3 separate regions of the Homo sapiens genome follow, and regions 1 and 2 are each linked to region 3. Evidence: promoter capture Hi-C in 16 types of primary human blood cells and fetal thymus (Javierre and others, 2016). All regions are on one chromosome and are shown on one strand. Each heading gives the region's core, a stretch centred on a gene start or on the middle of the fragment in contact. The rest is flanking DNA. Distances are from core to core; before and after follow the strand shown. Region 1 has its middle 2.1 kb from the start of SEC23B. Region 2 has its middle 3.9 kb from the start of SMIM26. Region 3 holds the start of XRN2 (5'-3' exoribonuclease 2).

The links. Contacts are between HindIII fragments. The CHiCAGO score rates a contact against its expected background, and 5 or more counts as called.
Region 1: a contact is called between a fragment that was not itself captured here and the fragment with the promoter of XRN2 in region 3, in 1 of 17 cell types (total CD4 T cells). The highest score is 6.4, in total CD4 T cells.
Region 2: a contact is called between a fragment that was not itself captured here and the fragment with the promoter of XRN2 in region 3, in 1 of 17 cell types (total CD8 T cells). The highest score is 7.0, in total CD8 T cells.

Annotation. Positions count from the first base shown.
Region 1 is chr20:18,504,106-18,507,530 of GRCh38, reverse strand. It overlaps the pseudogene RPS19P1. Among named protein-coding and RNA genes, the nearest start is that of SEC23B, 2.1 kb to the left of the region's middle. RefSeq lists an enhancer at 1-50. The HindIII fragment of the contact is 2,905 bases long and covers 302-3,206 here.
Region 2 is chr20:18,569,749-18,572,921 of GRCh38, reverse strand. No RefSeq gene overlaps it. Among named protein-coding and RNA genes, the nearest start is that of SMIM26, 3.9 kb to the right of the region's middle. The HindIII fragment of the contact is 2,280 bases long and covers 687-2,966 here.
Region 3 is chr20:21,301,043-21,304,580 of GRCh38, reverse strand. XRN2 (5'-3' exoribonuclease 2) reads right to left here and starts at 1,250. Exons shown (of 30, transcript NM_012255.5): 1 at 1,108-1,250. The coding sequence starts at 1,182. RefSeq lists an enhancer at 653-702 and a silencer at 1,423-1,552. The HindIII fragment of the contact is 6,284 bases long and covers 1-3,538 here.

The DNA.
Region 1 (3,425 bases), core at 505-3,004, 2.8 Mb after region 3:
CTGCACTGGTTGGAAGAAACTAAGGCTGCCGGAAGAAGGCATTAGCATGCGGAAGGGGCGGGGCGGGTGGTGAGCGCGGCGGCGCTTACGCACTTGCTGGTTTGGGAGTCGGTCTCTGTGGTTAAGTTTGAAGTACAGAGGTGTGGTGGTGCTTCACGTTACAAGCTCTCCTACCGTCGCTTGCTGTAATGTCTTGGCGCTCTCAGCGGAGGCTGGCACTAGCGCACAGTCCCTGTCATCCTTCTACATGGAGATAAATAATTGAGAACTGTAATATTCAACCATTTTAGGAGAGTAAGCTTAGAAATACATGGAACATAACTTTCTTTTAAAAAATAATTCCAACGTTTAGATTTAGGGGGTACACTGCGTATTTGTTACCTGGCTATGAGGTTTCGAATTCGAATGAGCTGGTCACCCAGATACTGAGCATAGTACCCAAGTTTTTCAGCCCCTCCCTGCCTCCCTCCCCACTCTAGTAGTCCCCAGCGTCTATTAATGTCACCTTTGTGTCCATGTGTGCCCAATGCTTAGCTCCCACTTTCAAGTGAGAACATGTATTTGGTTTTCTGCTTCTGCGTTAATTCTTTTAGGATCATGGCCTCCAGATGCATCCATGTTGCTGCAAAAGGCGCGATAGAACACAACTGTATAAAGCCACCACAACCATTTTTACACACGCTGACAAGTGGCAAACATGAACACATCATTACTGTGACTCAGAGTTGTAGTCTCTGTAGCATATAAAAATAAGCAAAACGATGTAAACATAAAATTATGCAAGAACATATCTAGGCATCCAAGAAGTATCCATTAATTAGCTCAATTTAATACTAAGTTTTAAGTTATCTACAGATCATAGAAATTATTAATAGTTTAAGGCACAAAGAAACAATTACTGTTAAATGTGAGAATGATTCAGTTTTGTTGAACAAATTCACATTTTTCAGGATCTTAAACAATGTAATGTTAATATTAGCTTATCAATAGTAAACTTTTATAAATTTAGGAAGTTCAGATTAATTATTCTCGGTAAGGAAACAAACTCAAAATGTACACATGTATAATACTTAACACTGAGAAAAGACATAGCTGGGATTTTTTTTAACCAAAACTTAATATTATTCGCCAAAGATTTGCCTTGATTATTTGAACCTGGATTCTTTCTGTACTAGCAATTTCTGTAAGAAAGATTGTTATAGGACCATCAGGTTCGATTGTCCATTGTGCGGTAACAGAAAGAATAGGAGTTGCAGCAGATAAAGAGTTCCATAATCAAGTGGCAGCCAAATGAGGAGACAAGAGCAATCCTCAAATCCACCTCCCCAAGAGATTAGAGATGGCATTTTTAAGAAGTCTGGAGGGGCAATGGGCTAAAGTGTGGGGATTTCTGATTGGTCAGGAAGTGAGAGGTGAAGTCATGGGACAGGGAGATGAAGAAACTTCATTCCAGTGTTGTTTCTTGGTGGAGGTCTTTATTTATTTATTTAAAAAAATTTTTTTTTTGTAAAGCAGGGTCTCACTTTGTTGCCCAGGCTAGTCTCAAACTCCGGGCTTCAGGCGATCCTCTCACCTTGGCCTCCCAAAGTGCTAAGATTACAGGCGTGAGCCACTGTGCCCTTCCTGGTGGGGATCCCTAGACAGTTTGGCATCAGCTGTTTTGTGGGAATTCAGGATCTGAAAAATACCTTAAGCAATTCCTGGGTACAAAGAGCTAGTGTCAGAGATTCTGTGGATAGGAGCAATCAGGGAGTAGGTGATCAGTGTGCTGCAAGGCTTTTGGTTAGTTAGCAGCTGCAGGGAAGTGAATTGAAGGGCACCAATGCACCCTGGTCAGTGCCTAACTAACCTGCCTAAAGGCTGGCTTGTAATCTTGTTAACCCTGTCAGGATGGTTTCAGCATTTTTAAGAAATTTTGCATGCATAAGTTTAATTTACTTATTTTCTGGAATTTTAGAAATAATTGATTTACATGTGTTTGTTTCCATAAGTGAATTATAACAGAGCTCCTTTAAGACATGAAATAATATAACTTATTAAAACTTTACAAAGGTAGTAAGATTTTTTTACTCCCACAACAAGAGGGGAAGGCCTTTGTTGATTACAGCCGGGAAGACACATAGACACATAGCATATAGCTTTGGTTCTGCAACTTTGGCCACAGGTCGAAAGTAAATTCAGAAACATAAAAATTCAGTGGACTAGATAACAAAAAGCTGTTCTCCTTCCCAATGGGCATGGAAGTCTTAACTGATTTGAACTCATAAGTAGACAAAAAGGCAAACAAACAAAAAGACTAACAAACCAGATTTTTCATCATCTCTTATCCAAAAGAGAATAGATCTCTAAAAACTATTAATTCACTTAAAGAGATCACCAAATGTTCAGAATGTAAAACCTAGTTCCTAATTTTTTTTTTTTTTTCTGAATGAGGCAATGTATTAACCCAGCATGGTTTGTTCCAATGCTTCTTGTTGGCAGCTGCCACCTGTCCGGCAATTCTGCCCAGATCTCTCTGTCCCTGAGGTGTCAGTTTGCGGCCCCCATCTTGGTCCTTTTCCACCATTTTCAGCCCCTCCAGGGCTTGGAGGACCCGGCGGAGGACACTCTTGAAGCCTCGGCCGAAGTGGCTGGGCATGACGCCGTTTCTCTGACGTCCCCATAGATCTTGGTCATGGAGCCAACCCCAGCGCCACCCTGGAGGTACAGGTGCCGCGCTGTGGAACCGGCTCGTGTGTAGAACCAGTTCTCAACGTAGGGAGGAAGCTCTTTGTGCTTGGCCAGCTTGACGGTGTCCACCCATTCGGGGACTTTCAGCTTCCCGGACTTTTTGAGAAAGGCTGCCAGAGCTCTGACGAAGTCCCGCTGGTTCACGTGGTTTACAGGAACTCCAGGCATCGTGCGGCTTCCGCGCTGCCAGCCAGGGGAAAGGGAGCAACGGGGTTTCCCGCGAGTTCCTAATTGGTGTCGCCATTCATGGGGAAAAATCCGCCAGCTGTGGGCGAATCAGAAACAAAACCCAAAATCAGTAAGGAGGAGAAAGAAACCTAGGGAGAAAGTCAGCAACGCTGTAGTACTATTGCTACTTGGTATTCACTCCCGGAGCCAGGAAAAAATGTGCTTGGGCTTAGCCCCATGGGGTGTTCTTCAGTAATGTGGTTTACCTGGTTCTGTCAGGTGAATCCATTGGGATGTTGGTGAAAGCTTCAAAACTGTTAAAGTGTTTCAAAAGGTAAAATTATGGCCTTCATGCAAATATAAAATGAACATGTGCCAAAGATCTTACTTAACTCATTCATTGATTTTAATTAATCCCTACGACCAGGAGGGATGTTCAGACTGGTTCTAAGGAGAATTTGATTTATAGTGACATATTCTCTATCACACAAAATTGATTTGCATTGCTGTGGACAGGAATAGTTTTC
Region 2 (3,173 bases), core at 577-3,076, 2.7 Mb after region 3:
AAATTAGCTGGGTGTGATGGCGCAGGCCTGTAGTCCCAGCTACTCGGGAGGCTCAGGCATGAGAATTGCTTGAACTTGGGAAGCGGAGGTTGCAGTGAGCCGAGATCGCACCACTGCACTCCAGCCTCGGTGACAGAGCGAAACTGTCTCAAAAAAAAAAAGACATGTTCAGACATGAAAAATCACCAAAAAATTATATACCCTTTTTCAGAATTATGGGGACACAGTATCGAGAAAACAGAGATCCATTATAGGATGGCAAAGCAAATAGCAAAGAAAAATGGATGCAAAGCAGAACTAGAGTGATCAGTCCAGATTGTACCAAGAAGACAAAGAGCTCCAAGATTTAAAAACAGAAAAGAGAAACTGGAAAGGTTTGTGTGGAAAATTATATTGTGAGGTTAGAGGATGTGGAAAGAATGAGAGAGAAACATCAAGAAAACAAAGCAAATGAAAAAAAGAGTGCAGTTAACTCCAGAAAGAAAAGTTATATGAGAAACAATTATAGCTCACTTACTTGGCTTATCAACAAACTATGTTTGCATAGTTAAAACAGGGTAAATATTAATTATTGATTCATCAAAAATATGCAATAGTTTTATTGGTTAGTCAGTTGGAAAGGAGGATCAAATCCTCATTAATAAATCCCATACATGATTGATAAATTAAAGATATTAGTAAAAGCTTATTATTTAGAAATGTGGACGTAAATACCAAAAAAAAAAAAAAAAAAACCTAATAGTTGAAAGCAAGGAGGGATAAAGCAGGAACTGTTTTTTTGGTTACAAACTTTTGATCATTATTTAATTTTTTAATGCATTTGTTGCTTTGTTAAAAATATAAAAATTAATTTCAAAAAAGTCATGCTGGCTAATACTGTAGAAACCAATTGGAGGGGACTCCAAGTAGAGACAAAGAGAGTAGGAAGTTGAGGCTACATAAGCAAAGAGGATGGAGGATTTAAGTAAGGTAGTGGTAAAGGGAATGGGAAGGTGGGAATGGAGTGGAATATTTGCAGTAGAAATGATGGGACCTGGTGGCTGGAGGAAGGAGAAGGAACAAGAAGAGGGAGAAGTCTAGAATGATAGGTTCCTAATTTGAGGAACTGAGTACTCTCTGAGAAAGAGAACGGAAGGAAGAGCAGCCTTGTGGGTGATGACAGCAATTTAAGTTATGGACAAAGCTGAGGTGGCTAGATATCCAAGTGGCAATGCTAGATGGACATGGATCTTGAGTTCAGGAGAACGCTGGGCTGAAATAAGAGAATAAATTAGATCTAGCAAAGAAACCCAGCCAAGTCCCAAGGAAAGCTAACCCAAATGTCCCCTTAAGCCCCACAAGTGTATGAATCCTGGGTAGACTGCCAGGTGAGAGTAGAAGTTCAGCTGTTTATCCTCGGTGTGCTCTATTAACAACTCTCACCTGCCAAGTGCCACAGCCCCTCAGCCCTTGCCCTTTGTTTCTCTGGAAGCCCTCATGTTAGGAAATGTCTTCCAAAACGTTCATGCTACTGTTCCCATTTCTCCCATACTTCTGATTCACTTGCTTCTCACCTTCCCCATCTACTGTCGTACACTGCTTCTCATTCATCAGTTTGATGCCAACCAAGATGGTCCACTGGAATACACAGCCAATTGGCACGAATCCATGCTTGACCTGATATCCCTTGGGAAGCTGAGTCTCTGCTACCAGCATCTGGAGCTGTTACTTGTGATTTTGGAATCCTTGTCACTAAGGCTGACTGCACCACAGCACTGCTCAGGCCACCCATAATGGTGGAACTGACACCAATGAGAAATCAAGATGAGGGTCTGAAGGTCATAGTACTGTAGAGGAACCCTGAAATGCCCAATTCCTGTCCTACCACACATCACATCTCTACTCACAGGGTCCCAACAGCTATGAACAGGAAAACACTACCTAAATGAGAAACAAATGCCACTTTATTCATAACTGAGGCAGTACTCTATAATCCATAGGCAGGGATCTGATAAAAACTGAACTGAGTCTCTCGCAAGGGTGGAAGCCAAAGACCAGGTTGAGGAGAGGCTGGTCAGACTTTGGCACTGCACATGGGAGGTAGTATCTTCTTGGGATATTTGTATTACTCCAGAAAGGTGAGAAAAGCAGCTGGTGTGCAATAAGAAAAGCAAGGCCAAGAGCCCAGGCAGGCTCAACAAGTGGCTGCCTGCATTCTGGTCCCAGTGTCAGGCCTTCTGAAGACAACATACTGCTTTTTTTTTTTTTTTTTGAGATGGAATCTCGCTGTCAACAGGCTGGAGTGCAGTGGTGCGATCTCAGCTCACTGCAACCTCCGCCTCCCAGATTCAAGCGATTCTCCTGCCTCAGCCTCCCAAGTAGCTGGGACTACAGGTGCGCGGTGCCATGCCCAGCTAATTTTTGTATTTTTAATAGAGACAGGGTTTCACCATGCTGGCCAAGACGGTCTCGATCTCTTGACCTTGTGATCCGCCCCTCGGCCTCCCAAAGTGCAGGGAGTACAGGCGTGAGCCACCGCTCCTGGCCCATACTCTCTGCTTTAATTCTGAGCTACCAATACACGTTTTTTATAAACACCCACTTTTGATTTAAGCTCACTTGTGTTTGTTGCCTGCAACCAAGAGACCACTGAGGAAACTGGTTCAGCATCAATCATGTCGTCCTGACTGCATTCCCAGCATTAGAATAGCACTGGCCACAGTTGGTGGGTAATCCACACTTGCTGAAGGAATGAGGGGTATGTGCACTGGTCCTAAAGAATAGGTCCAGTCTGTTTAATTCAGAAGTTACAATCAAATTTATATCATACTTACCCAGTACGCAGTAGTACCCAAAGGGCTACTGTGAATCCCAAAGTGAATATGGAGATTTGCTGAAACTAACCTTAAAGCGACCACTAAAGCTGTGCCTAATAGCAACATGAAAGAAATATAAATCTACATTAACTAGTTTCAGGAAATCAAGCTTATGGAAGCTCTATGTGAAATTTCACAGCAATCTTTCACTCATGCAAATACAGAGGAACACCTCTTGAAAATGCAGATAGTAGGCCGGGGACCGTGGCTCACACCTGTAATCCCAGCACTTTGGGAGGCTGAGGCAGGCGGATCACAAGGTCAGGAGATGGAGACCATCCTGGCTAACACGGTGAAACCCTGTCTCCACTGAAAACA
Region 3 (3,538 bases), core at 1-2,500:
GTTAAAGGTGGAGAAATGGGATGAGAAGGGGTAGAGCAAGAACTGTTGCTTTTTGTTTAACCCACGTGCAAGTAAAGTTCAATAAAGTTCGATTAAAATTTTACAAAGGAAACAAGTATTCAATTTAGCAGTTGCTTTTTGAAAAAAACAAGAAATAGTGGGAATGTCACTAAGACAAGGCTTTTGGTTCCTCCTTGGATAGAAGCCAAGAAAGTTAAAAAAAAAAAAAAAAGCAGAAATAAGTTCACAGTGACAGGCAAGCACTGCCTTCAAAAACTAAGGAGTGAGGTACGCGTGATGTGCCTCTGAACGTTTCCAATCCAGAAATTCTAATTAAGAGCACAAAATCGAATCCGCATGGAATGACGAAAACAATAAAAACAAAACTCAATAATGGCCAAAAATCTACTTACGTATTAACTAACAACAAAAATTGTACTGCTCAAGTACATCCAGTAATCTTGAAATTTTCAACAAGCACCCACCCCGTTCAGTAGTCAGGGCACACAGAGAAGGGTAACTTCTCAGAATTCTATAGCGCTCATCCTGGACCTGACATACTGCTTTCAGCGTCCAATCTAACCAGAACAACAAATGGTCCTGAACACTAGGAGAAAACCTTTCCGGCACAATTGGTAAACAACGAAAAGGTCGCCGCCAGGGATTCCTTTACAAGGTTGTCAAAAAGCTGGCCTCCGAATCCGTGCATCCATAACCCGCTAGCTCAGCTGACCTGGCATGCATTGCTCAACAACAGCCTCTGAACCTCTTCCGAGACCCAAAATGCGCGGTCTGGAGAGGAAACAAAGCAGTGGGCGGGGCCTTCCGGTGCCGGGAAAAAGCGAGTAGGGGAGGAGCGACCCTCCTGCGAGTTCGGAACCCTATAGGCCCTTGCCCCGCCGAGGGTCCTGAATTCCTCGCCCCCGGGGTGCTGAATCCCACAGCCCGCGTCCCATCGCGTGTGGGGCTGCGACTGCTCGCGAGGCTGGCAGCAGGGCGCGAGCTCCGGCAAGGCTCCCCGGGGGCAGGCGGCGGAGCCCATGGGCCGCGGCCTAGACGTGCCGGGGGCCCGGGCTCGAGTGTGGCGGCCGCCTGGCGCCTCCTCACCTTCTCTTCCACGCAGTTGACTATGATGGACGGGTACTTGCGGCTGAGCCAGCGGAAGAACGCCGGGACTCCCATAGCGGCACACGGCTGGAGGCGGCGGCCGACCGGCTGACGAGCGTAACCAAAGAGACGGGAGCAGCGGCAGAGGGCACCAGCACTTCCTCCCACGTGCGCGCTGGAGAACGGAAGTGACGTCACGGCGCCGCCGCCGGGGAAGCTGGGAAGGAGGCTTCGCTGGATGAGGGAGCGGCGGAAAAGGGCCTTGCCGGGCTGTTTGTGGGAGGCGGAGTCCGGCGGCGGACCGGGTGGCGAAGGCTGCAGCTCGCCCTCGGTGGTCCCAGCCCCGGAGCGCGAGGCCGAGCGCGTCTGAGTTGCGGGGGCTCACGGGCGACTGCTCTGCCGGGGCTCCGCCGGGATCTCCCAGCCCCAGCCCTCCGGCTCCCTGGGCACAGAATCGCTGCGCTCTGCATGCCCGGGAGGAGGTCTCCCTTGCCCGTTTGGTCACCTCTTGTTTGGAAGAAAATGTCTTTTTTTGCCTCTATGCTCACCCGTCTCAATCTAGGGTAGAATCGAAGCATCCAAACTTACTCGTTACTTCCATTTCCTGGTTTCTCCTAGTTTTGTGCTGCAGTACGTACCTGGACTATCAAAAGGAGCATTTTAAAGCATTTTACAGTAATAATGGCTGCTTTGCACCAATAATTTGATTGTTATGCAAATAAATAATTATGATAGTTACCGAATGGAATCTAGCCGGTATTTAGCATCCAATACAATCTTCCAGCTACAATTACGGGTATAAAATAGTTGCTAATATGATTTTCCAGCATTTACTGAGCCTTTACAGTGTACCAAGACATTGACTAAGGGATTGTCCTATGTAATCTTCACTTGAACCTTGTGAGGGTACTGTTAGCACCCTCGTGTAAATGATAAGAAAGCCAAGTTACAGAGGAGTTAAGTCACTTATGCACATAGCTTCTGTTTCAGTTCAAGCAAAGGTCATTTTTAATCCATCCTTGTTCTAACACGATACTTTTATCTTTTGTTTTCTGGTGGTCCCAAACGAATTTTTTCCATATGAAAGGAGAGGTCTGGAAGAGGAGGTATATTTGTCCGTTTGCTCAAGCCTGGAAGTCTCCCTGAATCCCCTCTTGGTTTGACACACATCACACACGATGCTAAATGCTCACCTCATGAGGCCTCTGTGAAAGTATTTCGCCGAGTTACCTCACAGGCAGTATTTATTGCCCCCTCCTCTGTGGTCTGATGACTACTTTGTTTAAACTACTAGTGTGGAAATTAGAGAAATAGTCATCCCGTGTTTTACTTAAGGATAGCCAAAACTATTCCAAAGTATTATGTCTATGGTGAAATTCCTCCTTTTACCTGGAAGCAGCCCCTCTGGTTTCCCTGGGAGGTGCTGTTATAGGAACATGTACACCATAGGCAGTTCAGGGATAGACAGCTGGCCAAGTTGAGCCATTTAGAATCCTTAACCAGCATTTTGGCGGGTTGGGAGGGTTTATTGTTTTGTTTTTGTTTTTTCAGACGGAGTCTCAGTCATCCAGGCTGGAGTGCAGTGGCAAGATCCAGGCTCACTGCAACCTCCACCTCCCGGGTTCAAGCGATTCTCCTGCCTCAGCCTCCCGAGTAGCTGGGATTAGAGGCGCCTGCCATGACACCCCGCTGATTTTTGTGTTTTTAGTTGAGACAGGGTTTCACCATGTTGGCCAGGCTGGTCTCGAACTCCTAACCTCAGGTGATCTGCCCACCTCGGCCTTCCAGAGTGCTGGGATTACAGGTGTGAGCCACTGCACCCAGCCTTACCAGCATTTTTGAGCTTTGAACCATAAGAAATTTAAGACTGCATCTTTCCAGTGCGTGAACGCTAAAAGATAAGAATTGGGACTTGTTGCCAGTAGGCAATGAGAGAAGCAGGGTTAATTCCCTGGTTCCAGTTAAATCCCTCTCTTCCTGCAGTTTGATTAAGTCTGTCCTTTGATTCTGTGAGCCAAATTTTTTTTTTTTTTTTTTTTTAAGACAGAGTCTCACTCTGTTGCCAGGCTGGAGTGCAGTGGCACCATCTCGGTTCACTGCAACCTCCACCTCCCAGGTTCAAGCGATTCTCCTGCCTCAGCCTCCCAAGTAGCCGGGACTACCAATGTGCGCCACCACGCCCGGCTAATTTTTGTATTTTTAGTAGAGATGGGGTTTTACCATGTTGGCCAGGATGGTCTCAATCTCTTGACCTTGTGATCCGCCCGCCTTGGCCTCCCAAAGTGCTGGGATTCCAGGTGTGAGCCACCACTCCCAGCCAAAAGTTTCCTTTTGCCCTAAGCTGGCTTGGGCTAAATTCTTATCCCTTACAAAGGAAAGAGTCCAGTAACAAAATTTGGGGAGTGCAAGCTAATTCACCTGGGTGGTGAAA